Linked DNA regions of Homo sapiens: region 2 is linked to region 1. The links are contacts of gene promoters, found by promoter capture Hi-C in blood cells and fetal thymus (Javierre and others, 2016). All regions are on one chromosome and are shown on one strand. Each heading gives the region's core, a stretch centred on a gene start or on the middle of the fragment in contact. The rest is flanking DNA. Distances are from core to core; before and after follow the strand shown. Region 1 holds the start of AGBL2 (AGBL carboxypeptidase 2). Region 2 overlaps ATG13 (autophagy related 13).

Region 1 (6,929 bases), core at 1,724-4,223:
TTAGGAAATTAAATTTTAAGAAGATCAATATTTATAATAGCATAAAAATATGAAGTATTATGAAAAACTATAAATCTTTATTGGGAGACATTAAAGACCTAAGTAAATGGAGATAAATATTATAGTCATAGATTGGAGAACCCAGTGTTGAAAAATTGCCAGTTCTTGTGAAATTTGATCTACAGATTTAATGCAATTCCTATAATCTTTTAAAATGTCATAAGCGGGCTGGGGACAGTGGCTCACGCCTGTAATCCCAGCACTTTGGGAGGCCAAGGTGGGTGGATCACCTTAGGTCAGGAGTTCGAGAACAGCCTGGCCAACATGAGGAAACCCTGTGTCTACTAAAAATACCAAAATTAGGCCGAGCGTGGTGGCTCATGCCTGTAATCTTGGCATTTTGGGAGGCTGAGGTGGGTGGATCACCTGAGGTCAGTTCGAGACCAGCCTGGCCAACATGGTGAAACCGTTTCTACTAAAAATACAAAATTAGCCAGGCATGGTGGTACACGCCTGTAATCCCAGCTACCTGGGTACTTGGGAGGCTGAGGCAGGAAAATCGCTTGACCCCGCGAGGTGGAAGTTGCAGCAAGCCTAGATTGCACCACTGCACTCCAGCCTGGGCAACAAGAGCATAACTCCGTCTCAAGAATAAAAAAAACACTGGGCGCGGTAAGCTCACGTCTGTAATCCCACCACTTTGGGAGGCCTAGGCAGGTGGATCACCTGAGGTCAGGAGTTCAAGACCAGCCTGGCCAACATGTTGAAACCCCGTCTCTACTACAAATACACAAAAAAATTAGCTGGGAGTGGTGGTGGGCGCCTGTAATCCCAGCTACTTGGGAGGCTGAGGCAGGAGAATCTCTTGAACCCAGGAGGTGGAGGTCGCAGTGAGCCGAGATTGCGCCATTGCATTTCAGCCTGGGTGAAAAGAGTGAGACTCTATCGCAAAAAAAAAAAAAAAAAGAAAGAAACAAAAATTACCCAGGCGTGGTGGCTCGTGCCTGTAATCCCAGCTACTCAGGAGGCTGAGGCAGGAGAATCTCTTGAACCTGGGAGGCAGAGGTTGCAGTGAGCCGAGATCGTGCCACTGCACTCCAGCCTGGGCGACAGGGTGAGACTTCATCTCAAAATAAATAAAAAATAAAATAAAATGTCATAAGCCAATTGCAAAATTTATTTTTTTAAATTTTTATTTATTTATTTTTTTTGAGACAGAGTCTCACTCTGTCGCCCAGGCTGGAGTGCAGTGGCTTGATCTCGGCTCACTGCAAGCTCCGCCTCCCAGGTTCACGCCATTCTCCTGCCTCAGCCTTCCCAGTAGCTGGGACTACAGGCACCCACCACCACGCCCGGCTAATTTTTTTGTATTTTTAGTAGAGACGGGGTTTCACCGTGTTAGCCAGGATGGTCTCGATCTCCTGACCTCGTGCTCCACCCGTCTCGGCCTCCCAAAGTGCTGTGATTACAGGTGTGAGCCACCGTGCCCGGCCGCCAATTGTAAAATTTATATAGTAAGGCAAAGACTCAAGAACAGCCGTGACACTTCTGAAGAACAAGGTGGGAAGACATGTCTTTCCAGATAAAGACTATTTTAATGCCATATAGTAATTAAGAGACAGTGATACTGGTAAAGGATAGCCAAACAGACCAATGGAATAGAGAGCCCAGAAACAGACCTTTGTATTAAGTGATGCTGTCTACTTGACAGAGGTGACCCGCAGATCAATGGGGAAAGGAAGTACTTTTCACTAATGGTAGAGGAAAAAGTATTTATTTGTCAATGCAAATTATTTATTAGTCTACCCAAGTGCAACCCTCCCAGCTAACGAAGCAATTTTCCTCTTGAGTCCAGGAAAGGTGATACTAGATAAGAACATGGTATTACCTTTAAAGTAGCCATAATATTGGAGGTGACGGTACATAAAGTCTTCATAAGGATCAGGAATAGTCTGTGAAAGGAAAGGCCACTTCAATCAAGATAATGTTTTCAAACCATAATAGACTCAACAAAAAGTACATGAGCGTTGTTGCATAGGACTAGACTAAACCAAGCGAGCTGCATTCCATGCGAATTATTCTATCGTGGGGATCAAGATCTCCAGCTGAGAAAAGATGCCACCAGAACATCCCTTCTCATCTAGTAGCAGATTTCTGTGGAGTTCCCGAAGAAATGGAGTTCCCCGAAGAAATTTCTGTGGCTTTCCGTGTTGTGTACCGACCTGCTTTAGGTGCGTTTCCAAAGCTGGGAACATGTTACTTCTGGATGGTAGGCTGAAAACTAGTCAGTGACATTAGCATCCAGTCGCAAACCCTGCCCAATTTCCAAATAGGCAGCTGATTACACAAGAGAAGCTACAAAGCCACAAGAGGACAAGTGAAAAAACTGCCAATACCTCCCCGGGCGCCCCCCAGCTCCCTCTTGACTTCAGAAAACCCTGCCAACCCAGCTTCTCCTCAGCTAAACAAGGTGGTCACGCCGAGGCCAGAGGTGCATCTGAGACAGGGAGGGCAGCGTATCTTCCCGCTTCTTCTTCCCAAGGTGCTGGCCCCATGCTTCCCTTTCCCTGAGAAAGGAGATGCTCGCCACAGGAAAGTGAAAGAAATGGGTATGGGAGCACGCGACGAAGTCGTCTCGGTAGGTGCCGATGGAAAAAGGTCAGGGGGTTGGGAAAGTGGGCCCTAAAGATTGAATTTAGGGTTCAGAGGAACCTGGTCTGGGGCAGGTGGTGAGGGGGTTTCCTAAGGGTAGGAGCGGGGAAGGAGAGCAGAAACTTCCCAGGAGGGCAGAGCGATGGATGCGACCGCCTTCGCGCCCCGGCCCGTCCCAAGCAGCACGGATGGCTGCGGCAGAGAAGCTCCAGCGAGGCAGGCGGCCACCGCACTTAAGTACAGAGGCCAAGCAGTGTGCGGGCAAGGGGACAAACTCGCTGCACCCGCCCGCCACCGCCTTCTGTGAGGGCCCGGGTAGTCTAGCAACCGAAAGCAGGAAGCGGAGAAAGGGCGGGGCGGTCGGGCGCTTCCGGGGAGCTAGGCCTCGCCCCCAAGGAGGGAGCGGGGACCCCGGGAAGGTCTGCAACATGTATGGCGGGCAGCGGCTTTCTTCCCCTCATACATCACAGCCCCAGCCTCGGAATCGAAACCGCATTGATGAGTACGATGCCAGTAGCCTTCAACATACTTCCAAGCTGGTTTGCTGTTGGCTTTAGATAACTGTTATGCATAATTTGCTCTAAGAGAGCTGCTGCTTCTCTCCTTTCACCTTAACATTCTCTCCACTGCACAGCTAGAAAGGAAAAATTACCTTCTACACTGCAAATCTTAAGAAACAGAGCTAACAAATTCAAATCACACATTTTGATTAGGTTTAAAAAAATCAATTATATGCATAGAAATTTACTCCAGGCCAGGCGCGGTGGCTCTCGCCTGTAATCCCAGAACTTTGGGAGGTCGAGAGTTGGAGACTAGCCTGACCAACATGGAAAAACCCCATCTCTACTAAAAATACAAAATTAGCTGGGTGTGGTGGCGCATGCCTGTAATCCCAGCTACTCGGGAGGCTGAGGCAGGAGAATCACTTGAACCTGGGAGGCGGAGGTTGCGGTGAGCCGAGATCGTGCCATTGCACTCCAGCCTGAGCAACAAGAGCGAAATTCTGTCTCCAGAAAAAAAAAAAACAAAAAACCAACAACAAAAAAATAAATATACTACAATAAAATTCAAACACGTGTCTTTGGTTAACTATATATGAATATAACCGTATCTGTTACTTTTATCAGTGGGGGGAAAAAAGCTATAAAGCACCTTTTTTTCTGAAATGTTAACCATATTACATCATTGCCAGGAATTAAGTAGGTAAAATATTATCTAATATGGCTATTAACCAATCTAGATATTATAGATAATATTAGACCCCAAAACTTTGATCACACAGCACCATCTGGGACTAGAAGCCTGTTTGTCTAAACTGGCCCCACCACTCCCCATTAAAGATCTCCTGCTCATTTTCTTGAAAGCTGTTGTTAAATGTTTGCACCTTGCATTGTATATGCTTAGAAAAAAAAACAAGTCCTGGTTACATAATCAGAATAACAGGAGTTGACGAGCAAAAGGATAACCCATCAGGATTATAAAAAAAGCTTTATTAGTGCATATATACAAATTTACAAGGTCAGAAACTGGAGAAATACAAAGAGCTTTAAAACACAATTTGCCGTTTCCTCAGTTTAAAGTGACTTTTACCTGATTGTGATACAACAGAAAGTACAGAACAGTAAACTGCTTTTTAAATACTGGAATTTTATGGAGAATACATTCACATAAAGAAAGGAGGTGAATTTTGTTTTGGAACAGGGTTAAGACAATGGAGACATTAATACATAGAGTGTCTTGTTGTATTTACTGCCACATACTTGAGGGGAAATTCTCAAAATCAAGGATATGAACACCTGCTGCTGCCTGTATGCCACCTAGTGTGCGAAACGACCGAGCTACCAGTTCTAGAACTTATGAGAACTACTCTAAAGAGTGTGGCCATCTATCAGCACGAGGTAAACCACTTAGACCTCAGCACTTCAGGGGTGGCCGACTAGAGAAAAGAGGCCAGAAAAAGCTTCAGACAATTCCAGTCAAGCAAGGTAGAATGCAGAGCTGCCTTCTGAATTGCACTTGTTCTGGAGGAGAAGTTAATTCTTCACTTTTGTCAGGGAGTCCTCTACAGAAGTGTTATACTCATGAGCCACATGTTCTTCAAGACTGATGAGGTTAATACACCTAACATGCTAAGTTTGCCAGTTTGAGAATAAAGGCAGCATGGTCAAAGCAATTCCAATCACCTCATCCCTTTGCAAAAACAGAAAAATTACATTTCACAAAAGTGAAAACTTTGTATGCATACACTCTTGCCCAGGAAATTTATAAGATCTCCCCCATAACATTTATAGTTTATTTGACAATAAAACTGGTTAAGACTTTGAACTGAACACAAAACAAACAATAATACAAAAAAGTTTTAAAAACTTAAAAACTATGTGTTTGGAGCCATTTTCCTTCTCTTCAGCCTTGCTCTCCAATCCTCAGGAAGGGCTTCAAAATTAGCATTTCTCTCTGCCATGCCACTGTGAAAACAACATACAGATTATTTTAGTGGAAAGAAAAATTAACAAAAGTATTCATTTCCCAGCAAATAAAAATCTAACTGAAATTAAAAACCTGATCTATCACGTCTATGTTTATGAAAATCTTTTGTTTCTCAGCCAAACATCAGTATATTCTTCATCAAACTTCTTCATTCTGATAGGTCAACCAAACACTACCCCAGTTTTACGTATATGTCTAAGTGCATATTTATTTATTTATTATTGACTGATTGAGACGGAATTTTGCTCTTGTTGCCCAGTCTGGAGTGCAATGGTGCGATCTCGGCTCACCGCAACCTCCGCCTCCCAGGTTCAAGCGATTCTCCTGCCTCAGCCTCCCCTCAGAGTAGCTGGGATTACAGGCATGTGCAACCATGCCTGGCTAATTTTTTTTTTTTTTAAGTAGCGACAGGGTTTCTCCATGTTGGTCAGGCTGGTCTCGAACTCCCAACCTCAGGTGATCTGACTGCCTTGGCCTCCCAAAGTGCTGGGATTACAGGTGTGAGCCACCGTGCCCGGCCTTATTTATTTTATATAAATATACCTCCAATAACCATTAAAGGCACACTGAAGAAATGAAACACGTTCTATTAGAGTTTTTCTTAGCCCACAGGAGTTATGATTCTTCAGGGCAGATATATCTAATCCTCAGTCTACCAACAGGGACCCTGGGATCTAATGTTTTTTTTTCTGTTTTTGAGATGGAGTCTTGCTCTGTTGCCCAGACTGGAGTGCAGTGGCACAATCTCGGCTCACTGCAACCTCTGCCTCCTAGGTCCAAGCGATTCTCCTGCCTCAGCCTCCCAAGTGGCTTGGACTACAGGCGCCTGCCACCATGTCCAGCTAATTTTTATATTTTTAGTAAAGACAGGTTTTCACTATGTTGGCCAGGCTGGTCTCGAACTCCTGACCTCGTGATCCACCCACCTCGGCTTCCCAAAGTGCTGGGATTACAGATGTGAGCCCCTGTGCCCGGCCGGATCTAATGTTTTTGAGTTTCTCTTTCAAGTAGTTTTATTTGTAAGGATTAAAATTCAAATTCTATCTTGCAATTAACAGAATGGATGCATTAGAACCTTTAATAAAAACTAAGCTAGAACCTATCAGAGATTAATTTGAAATCTGGCATCAGTAATAGACAGCTATATTCTAGGTTATACACTGACAATTGATGAACAGTGAGTTGCAGTCAAAGAATGCTGCCCATTTCAGAATGTATACCTTCAAAACAAGGAAAATATGAAATAAAAAATTGTACTTGCTGTGTCTAAAGTCTTTAAAATTTCTAGAATTTTTGAGAAAGCCATCTTCTTGCCTCAGCCTCCCAAGCATCTAGGACTACAGGTGTGAGCCACAGTGCCCACCCAACATGTTTTTTTTTTTTTTTTTTGAGATGGAGTCTTGCTCTGTCGTCCAGGCTGGAGTGCAATAGCACGGTCTTGGCTCACTGCAACCTCCGCCTCGCGGGTTCAAACAATTCTTCTGCCTCAGCGATTACAGGCATTCGCCACCAGGCCCAGCTAATTTTGTATTTTTAGTAGAGATGGGGTTTCACCATGTTGGCCAGGCTGGTCTCGAATTCCTGACCTCGTGATCCACCCGCCTTGGCCTCCCAAAGTGCTGGGATTACAGGCGTGAGCCACCGTGCCCAGCCCAACATGTGCTTTCATCATAAAAAATATTTCTGACCTGAGTGTGGTGGCTCACACTTGTATTCCCAACACTCTGGGAGGCTGAGGTGCAATTACTTGAAGCCAGTTCTCCCTATCCTTTTATTCTAGTCAAGCAAGG
Region 2 (6,177 bases), core at 1,947-4,446, 1.1 Mb before region 1:
GTTCGAGACAAGCCTGACAACATAGCGAAACACTGTCTCTACTAAAAATACAAAAAATTAGCTGGGCAGGGTGGCACGCTCCTGTAATCCCAGCTACTCGGGAGGCTGAGGCATGAGAATCACTTGAACCCAGGAGGCGGAGGTTGCAGGGAACCAAGATCACACCACTGCACTCCAGCCTGGGTGACAGGGCTATACTGTATCTCAAAAAAACCCAAACAAACTAGTGCTGCTCACAGGATGTTGATCATTTAGGAGTGCTTTTGGATACAAATAACTGTAGCTTAGATCTAGAGATGTGGGTGATCTCAGAGGTAGACTTGGCTTTTCCACCTGCTTTTTATACTGTTGTTAGAAGGTTAACAGCGTGATACCATTAAAGAATAGTCTTGACCAGGTGTAGTGACTCACGCCTATAATCCCAGCACTTTGGGAGGCCGAGGCAGGAGGATCACCTGAGGTCAGGAGTTCGAGACCAGCCTGGGCAACATAGTGATACCTTGTCTCTACTAAAAATGTAAAAAATTAGCCAGGTGTGGTGGTTCACATCTGTAGTCCCAGCTACTCAGGAGGCTGAGGGAGGATTGCTTGGGTCCAGAAGGTCAAGGCTTCAGTGAGCCATGATCACACCACTGCACTCCAGCCTGGGTGACAGAGCAAGACTCTGTCTCAAAAAAATACACATTGCCAAGAAAAAGTTTAGCAAATTTTAAGCACTGTATCAGTATTTACATGAATAGTGAACTGCCTGAGTCTCAGCTTCTTGTTAAAGGCCTTAAAGGGTATTTACTTAGCAAGATCTCTTTTACCAACACTTTATTAACATTGTTCCTATATTACTTTATGGCAGGAGTCACTAAACTATGGTCAGCCGACCATCTGCTTGTTTTTATAAAAAAAGTTTTTTTAGGACACAGCCATCCCCTTTGTTTACATATTGTCTATGGCTACTTTTGCAATACAACAGAAAGCTGAGTATTTGTTATAGCCTATACGGCCCACAATCTTAAAATAGTTACCATTTGGTCCTTTACAGAAAGGTTTGCTGATCCCTGCTTTTTTAGTATCTTTTGTCTGTCGTATCTGTAGTACTTTTGTGCTTTGTATTTCAGATATTTACATACATTTCATTTCTTTTCTTTTTTTTTTTTTTTTTGAGGTGGAGTCTTGCTCACCTAGGCTGTGCAGTGGCACGATTTTGGCTCACTGCAACCTCCACCTCCTTGGTTCAAGTGATTGTCGTGCCTCAGCCTTCCAAGTAGCTGGGATTAATAGGCATGCACCACCACGCCTGGCTAATTTTTGTATTTTAATTAGAGATGGGGTTTCACCATGCTGGCCAGGCTGGTCTTGAACTCCTGACCTCAATTGATCCGCCCACCTCGGCCTCCCAGAGTGCTGGGATTACAGGCGTGAGCCACCATGTCCAGCTACATTTCTTTTCTTTCATACAAAACTGTAGTCTGTAAGACCTAGGATTCAGATTTATCCTTATTTCATTCCTAACATCTAACCATGAAGCTTCTTTTTTTTTTTTTTGTTTTTTGAGACGGAGTCTCGCTGTGTTGCCCAGGCTGGAGTACAATGGCACAATCTCGGCTCACTGCAAGCTCCGCCTCCCAGGTTCACGCCATTCTCCTGCCTCAGCCTCCCGAGTAGCTGGGACTACAGGCACCCGCCACCACGCCCGGCTAATTTTTTGTATTTTTAGTAGAGACGGGGTTTCACCATGTTAGCCAGGATGGTCTCGATCTCCTGACCTCATGATCCACCCGCCTCAGACTCCCAAAGTGCTGGGATTACAGGCGTGAGCCACCGCGCCTGGCGAAGCTTCTTCATACATTGTTGGAGCTTAGTATTTATTGAATAAACCCATGTGTATATTTAATTTTAACAATATTACTTGAAAAATATGAAAATAGATTTTAGGTATTTTGAATTCAAACTTTTTGCTAATATAGACTGGCCTGTCCAGGGAGAATCATAGGAAGGTTCCACTGTGTTTATGTTTTTATTTTTTTTTTTCAGAATAGTCTTACCTAGTTCATTATTCCACGGTGGAAAAGATTTCCTGCTTTGTTAAGCCATCTACTTAGAGATTTCTTCATGGCCAGGCACAGTTGGCTCACACCTGTAATCCCAGCACTTTGGGAGGCTGAGGTGGGAGGATTGCTTGAGCCCCGGAGTTTCAGACCAGCCTGGGTCACATGGCAAGACCTCATCACTACTATTTTTAAAATTTTATATATATATATATATATATATATATGTAAAAGAGAGCTTCCCACAACTAAAGACCACTTATCAAACTCTAGTACATTCTGGTCAGGTATGGTGGCTCATGCCTGTGATCCCAGCACTTTGGGAGACTGAAGTGGGAGAATAATTTGAGGCCAGGACCAGGGGCAGTGGCTCACACCTGTAATCCCAGCACTTTGGGAGAATGAGGTGGGAGGATCGCTTGAGTTCAGGAGTTCGATACCAGCCTGGGCAACACACCGAGACCCTGTCTATACTAGAAATAAAAAAACTTAGCTGGGTGTGGTGGCACGTGCCTGTAGTCCCAGCTGCTTAGGAGACTGAGGTGAGAGGATCTCTTGAGCCCAGGAGGTTGAGGCTGCAGTGGGCAGTGGTCATACCACTGCACTCCAGCATGGGCAACACACTGAGACCCTGTCTCAAAAAAAACAGTTGAGGCCAGGAGTTTGCAACCAGCCTGGGCAATAGTTAGACCCTGTCTCTACCAAAAATTATTTTTAAAAAACCCGAAAAACAGGCCAGGCATGGTGGCTTGCACCTGTAATCCCAGCACTTTGGGAGGCTACGGCGGGTGTATCACTTGAGCTCAGGAGTTCAAGACCAGCCTGGGCAATGTGGCGAAACCCTGTCTCTACCAAAAATACAAAAATTAGCCAGGCATGGTAGCGCATACCTGTAGTGCCAGCCATTTGGGAGGCTGAGGCACAAGAATCGCTTGAGTCCAGGAGGTGGAGGTTGCAGTGAGCCAAGATGGTGCCATTGCACTCCAGCCTGAGCGACAGAGCGAGACACTGTCTCAAAAAAAACCAAAAAACAGGTCCGGGCGCAGTGGCTCACGCCTGTAATCCCAGCACTTTGGGAGGCTGAGACGGGCGGATCACGAGATCAGGAGATCGAAACCATCCTGGCTAACACGGCGAAAACCCGTCTCTACTAAAAATACAAAAAATTAGCCGGGCGCGGTGGCGGACACCTGTAGTCCAGCTGCTCGGGAGGCTGAGGCAGGAGAATGGCATGAACCTGGGAGGCGGAGCTTGCAGTGAGCCGAGATTGCACCACTGCACTCCAGCCAGGGCGACAGAGTGAGACTCAGTCTCAAAAAGCAAAACAAACAAACAAAAAAACAGCCGGGCGTGGTGGCATGCGTCTGTAATCCCAGCTACTTGGGAGGCTGAGGTAGGAGAATCGCTTGAACCCAGGAGGCTGGAGGTTGCAGTGAGCCGAGATCATGCCACTGCACTGCAGCCTGGGTGACAGAGCAAGACTCCGTCTCAAACAAAACAAAACAAAACAAAACCAGTGCCTTCTAGTAGCAATCCTAGACCTGTTGGCCACTTTTATTTATATATTCTTTATTTCTCAGTAGGTATAATTTTAAAATACATTTTAGTAGCAGAGAGAAGAAACTTAAATAGCAGTTTCCACTTAATTATTATTTTCCTCATTTCTTTTTTTGAGACAGCGTCTCATCCTTTTGCCCAGGCTGGAATGCAATGGTGCAATCTTGGCTCACTGCAGCGTCAACTTCCTGGGCTTAAGTGATCCTCCCACCTCAGCCTCCCAGTTATCTGGTACTCCAGGCATGCACCATCACACCCGGCAAAATTATTTTTTGTCAATGCAGGGTCTTGCTGTGTTGCCCAGACTGGTCTTGAACTCCTGGCCTCAAGTGATCCTCCCGAAGTGCTGGGATCACAGGCATGAGCCACTGTGCCTGGCCTTATTTTCCTTATTTTTTAACCAACCCACTCTGTACGTCTCCATGCCTGTAGCTTAATTGAAGTAGTAGGAATTACTAATGCTCCATCAGCAGAGGTATTTGAGCAGATGAGTAAGGAAGGCTTTGTTTTATTTTGTTTCTACGTGTTTTGGCTATAGAGGCCCTTAGGAGTAAAGAATCAGGTAACATTTCTTATTTTTTCTTCCATACAGGATATATTTTGGAGAAGTTCAGCTGAGTGGCTTAGGAGAAGGTATGTATCAACGGTTGAAAAACATCGTAGTGTTCAGAGCTCTCCTAACTTCAGAGATGATCTTCGTTTCTACTTGTTATAATATGTAGATTGTCATCTTAATATGCATAATACAAGTAAAGAAAAGATGAGAATGCAGGTAGGTGGTCCAGGTTACCCCTGATCTGCCAGGGTAACCAAATAATTTTTCCCAAAGTTCCAGGAACTCAGTCTTCTTTCTTACTCTTTATAAAACTGTATATTTTCCTAATTTTCTACAGTGAGGATGTTAAATGTTTCTGATGAACAACAAGAATTTTGAAAAATTGGAAATGAAACCAAGAAAATCAGGAAAGCTTTGTTGAAAGTGTCACTTGCAAGGCCTTGGCTCTTTACTTAGCCGTGGAGTGGCAGCTTGGGTGGAAGGCAATTACTTCTTAAACTGAAGTGTTTGTGTGACATTCTAGTGCTCCTTCATTGTCTTTTTTAGCATGTGATGTATCCTTTGCAGGGCTGGTTAGTAGAACTTTCTCAGGCCTTAAAACTAACAGTTATTTTATCTCTTTGAAGGTAGCTTTATCTATAAATAGAGTGCTGTTTCCCTTGCCAATATTGGCTCAATATAGAATACATTGAGAGGGAAGAAACCTATATATACACACACATACACGCACATACACACACACACACACACACATATGAAATTAAGGCTGCTGCACTTAACATGCTAAGTGGATAATGCCAGAGATTACACAATAGGCCAAATAATTCAGGGAAAGACGGTCTGGGGGCAGTGTCAGTATTCTCTGCAAAAGAAGCTAATAATGTATCTCTTCTCCTAGGCTTCCAGACAGTTCGTGTTGGGACAGTGGGCACCCCTGTGGGCACCATCACTCTTTCTTGTGCTTACAGAATTAACTTGGCATTCATGTCTACCAGGTGAGGAAGAGCCCTGGAATCCAAAAGAACTCTTCCGAAAATGTTAAAGTTTTTTTTCTCCTAAACTTTAAGACTAAACCTACAATTCAGCTTTGCTGAAAGCAGTACCTTCAGAAGAATAAAGAGAGAGTGCAGTTGCCAGATTGGAGAATTTGAGTGTCCCAGAGCCAGTTTGTCCAGAACGTAGGATTGGTGGTTTATATTTAGGGATTGTGATAGTTAAAGCTCTGGTAGTGCCTGCCAACAGATGTAAGGTGAGGGGCCCTCTGAGGACTTTGTGGGGGCTGGAAAGGCATTCTAACAAATACTGGAATCTGCTTATTGTATTACAGGCAATTTGAGAGGACCCCACCTATCATGGGGATTATTATTGATCACTTTGTGGACCGTCCCTATCCCAGCTCCTCTCCCATGCACCCCTGCAATTACAGGTGAGGAATGTGAAAAGGTGCTCTCCCAAACTGCAGCTGGGCAGAAGCATCCATCCTGCACAAGCACATGGAACACTTTTCTCAGCACTCACTCTCCAGTGGGCAGGGGGCCACTGATGGAGACCCCACGTGGAGAGAAATCAAATGGGCCAGTTTCCCTTCTTTCTGCTCCCTCTTAGGTACACCAAGACTTAGTATATACAGACTGTCTCAGAAAATTCTTGGGATATTTTGGATCTTGATGTTAGTGATAAGACTTTTCTTGGTGAAACCCCATCTCTACTAAAAATACAAAAATTAGCTGGGCATGCCAGCACATGCCTATAATCCCAGCTACTCAGGAGGCTGAGGCAGGAGAATTGCTTGAACCTGGGAGGCAGAGGTTGCAGTGAGCTGAGATTGCACCACTGCATTCCAGCCTGGGCTACAGAGTGAGACTCCTTCTCAAAAAAAAAAAAAAAGACTTTTCTCAGTTACAAGTTACTTAGAGCCTTAGAAGAGTGGCAGTGATTTGTGGAATATCCTTGACAAATTAATTGGTTTTCAGGTTACCATCTGGCACATTAGTTTCATATCAGAATAAAATGTCTCCAGGT

Evidence for each region. Contacts are between HindIII fragments. The CHiCAGO score rates a contact against its expected background, and 5 or more counts as called.
Region 2: a contact is called between a fragment that was not itself captured here and the fragment with the promoter of AGBL2 in region 1, in 1 of 17 cell types (monocytes). The highest score is 5.2, in monocytes.

Annotation. Positions count from the first base shown.
Region 1 is chr11:47,712,396-47,719,324 of GRCh38, forward strand. AGBL2 (AGBL carboxypeptidase 2) reads right to left here and starts at 2,974. Exons shown (of 19, transcript NM_024783.4): 1 at 2,780-2,974; 2 at 2,223-2,355; 3 at 1,889-1,952. The coding sequence starts at 2,255. It overlaps FNBP4 (formin binding protein 4), which reads right to left. Exons shown (of 17, transcript NM_015308.5): 17 at 4,099-5,117. The coding sequence ends at 5,027. RefSeq lists an enhancer at 2,652-2,711. The HindIII fragment of the contact is 6,151 bases long and covers 1-4,137 here.
Region 2 is chr11:46,652,042-46,658,218 of GRCh38, forward strand. ATG13 (autophagy related 13) reads left to right here. Exons shown (of 19, transcript NM_001346311.2): 8 at 4,192-4,232; 9 at 5,054-5,150; 10 at 5,483-5,581. Among named protein-coding and RNA genes, the nearest start is that of ATG13, 38 kb to the left of the region's middle. The HindIII fragment of the contact is 2,737 bases long and covers 1,829-4,565 here.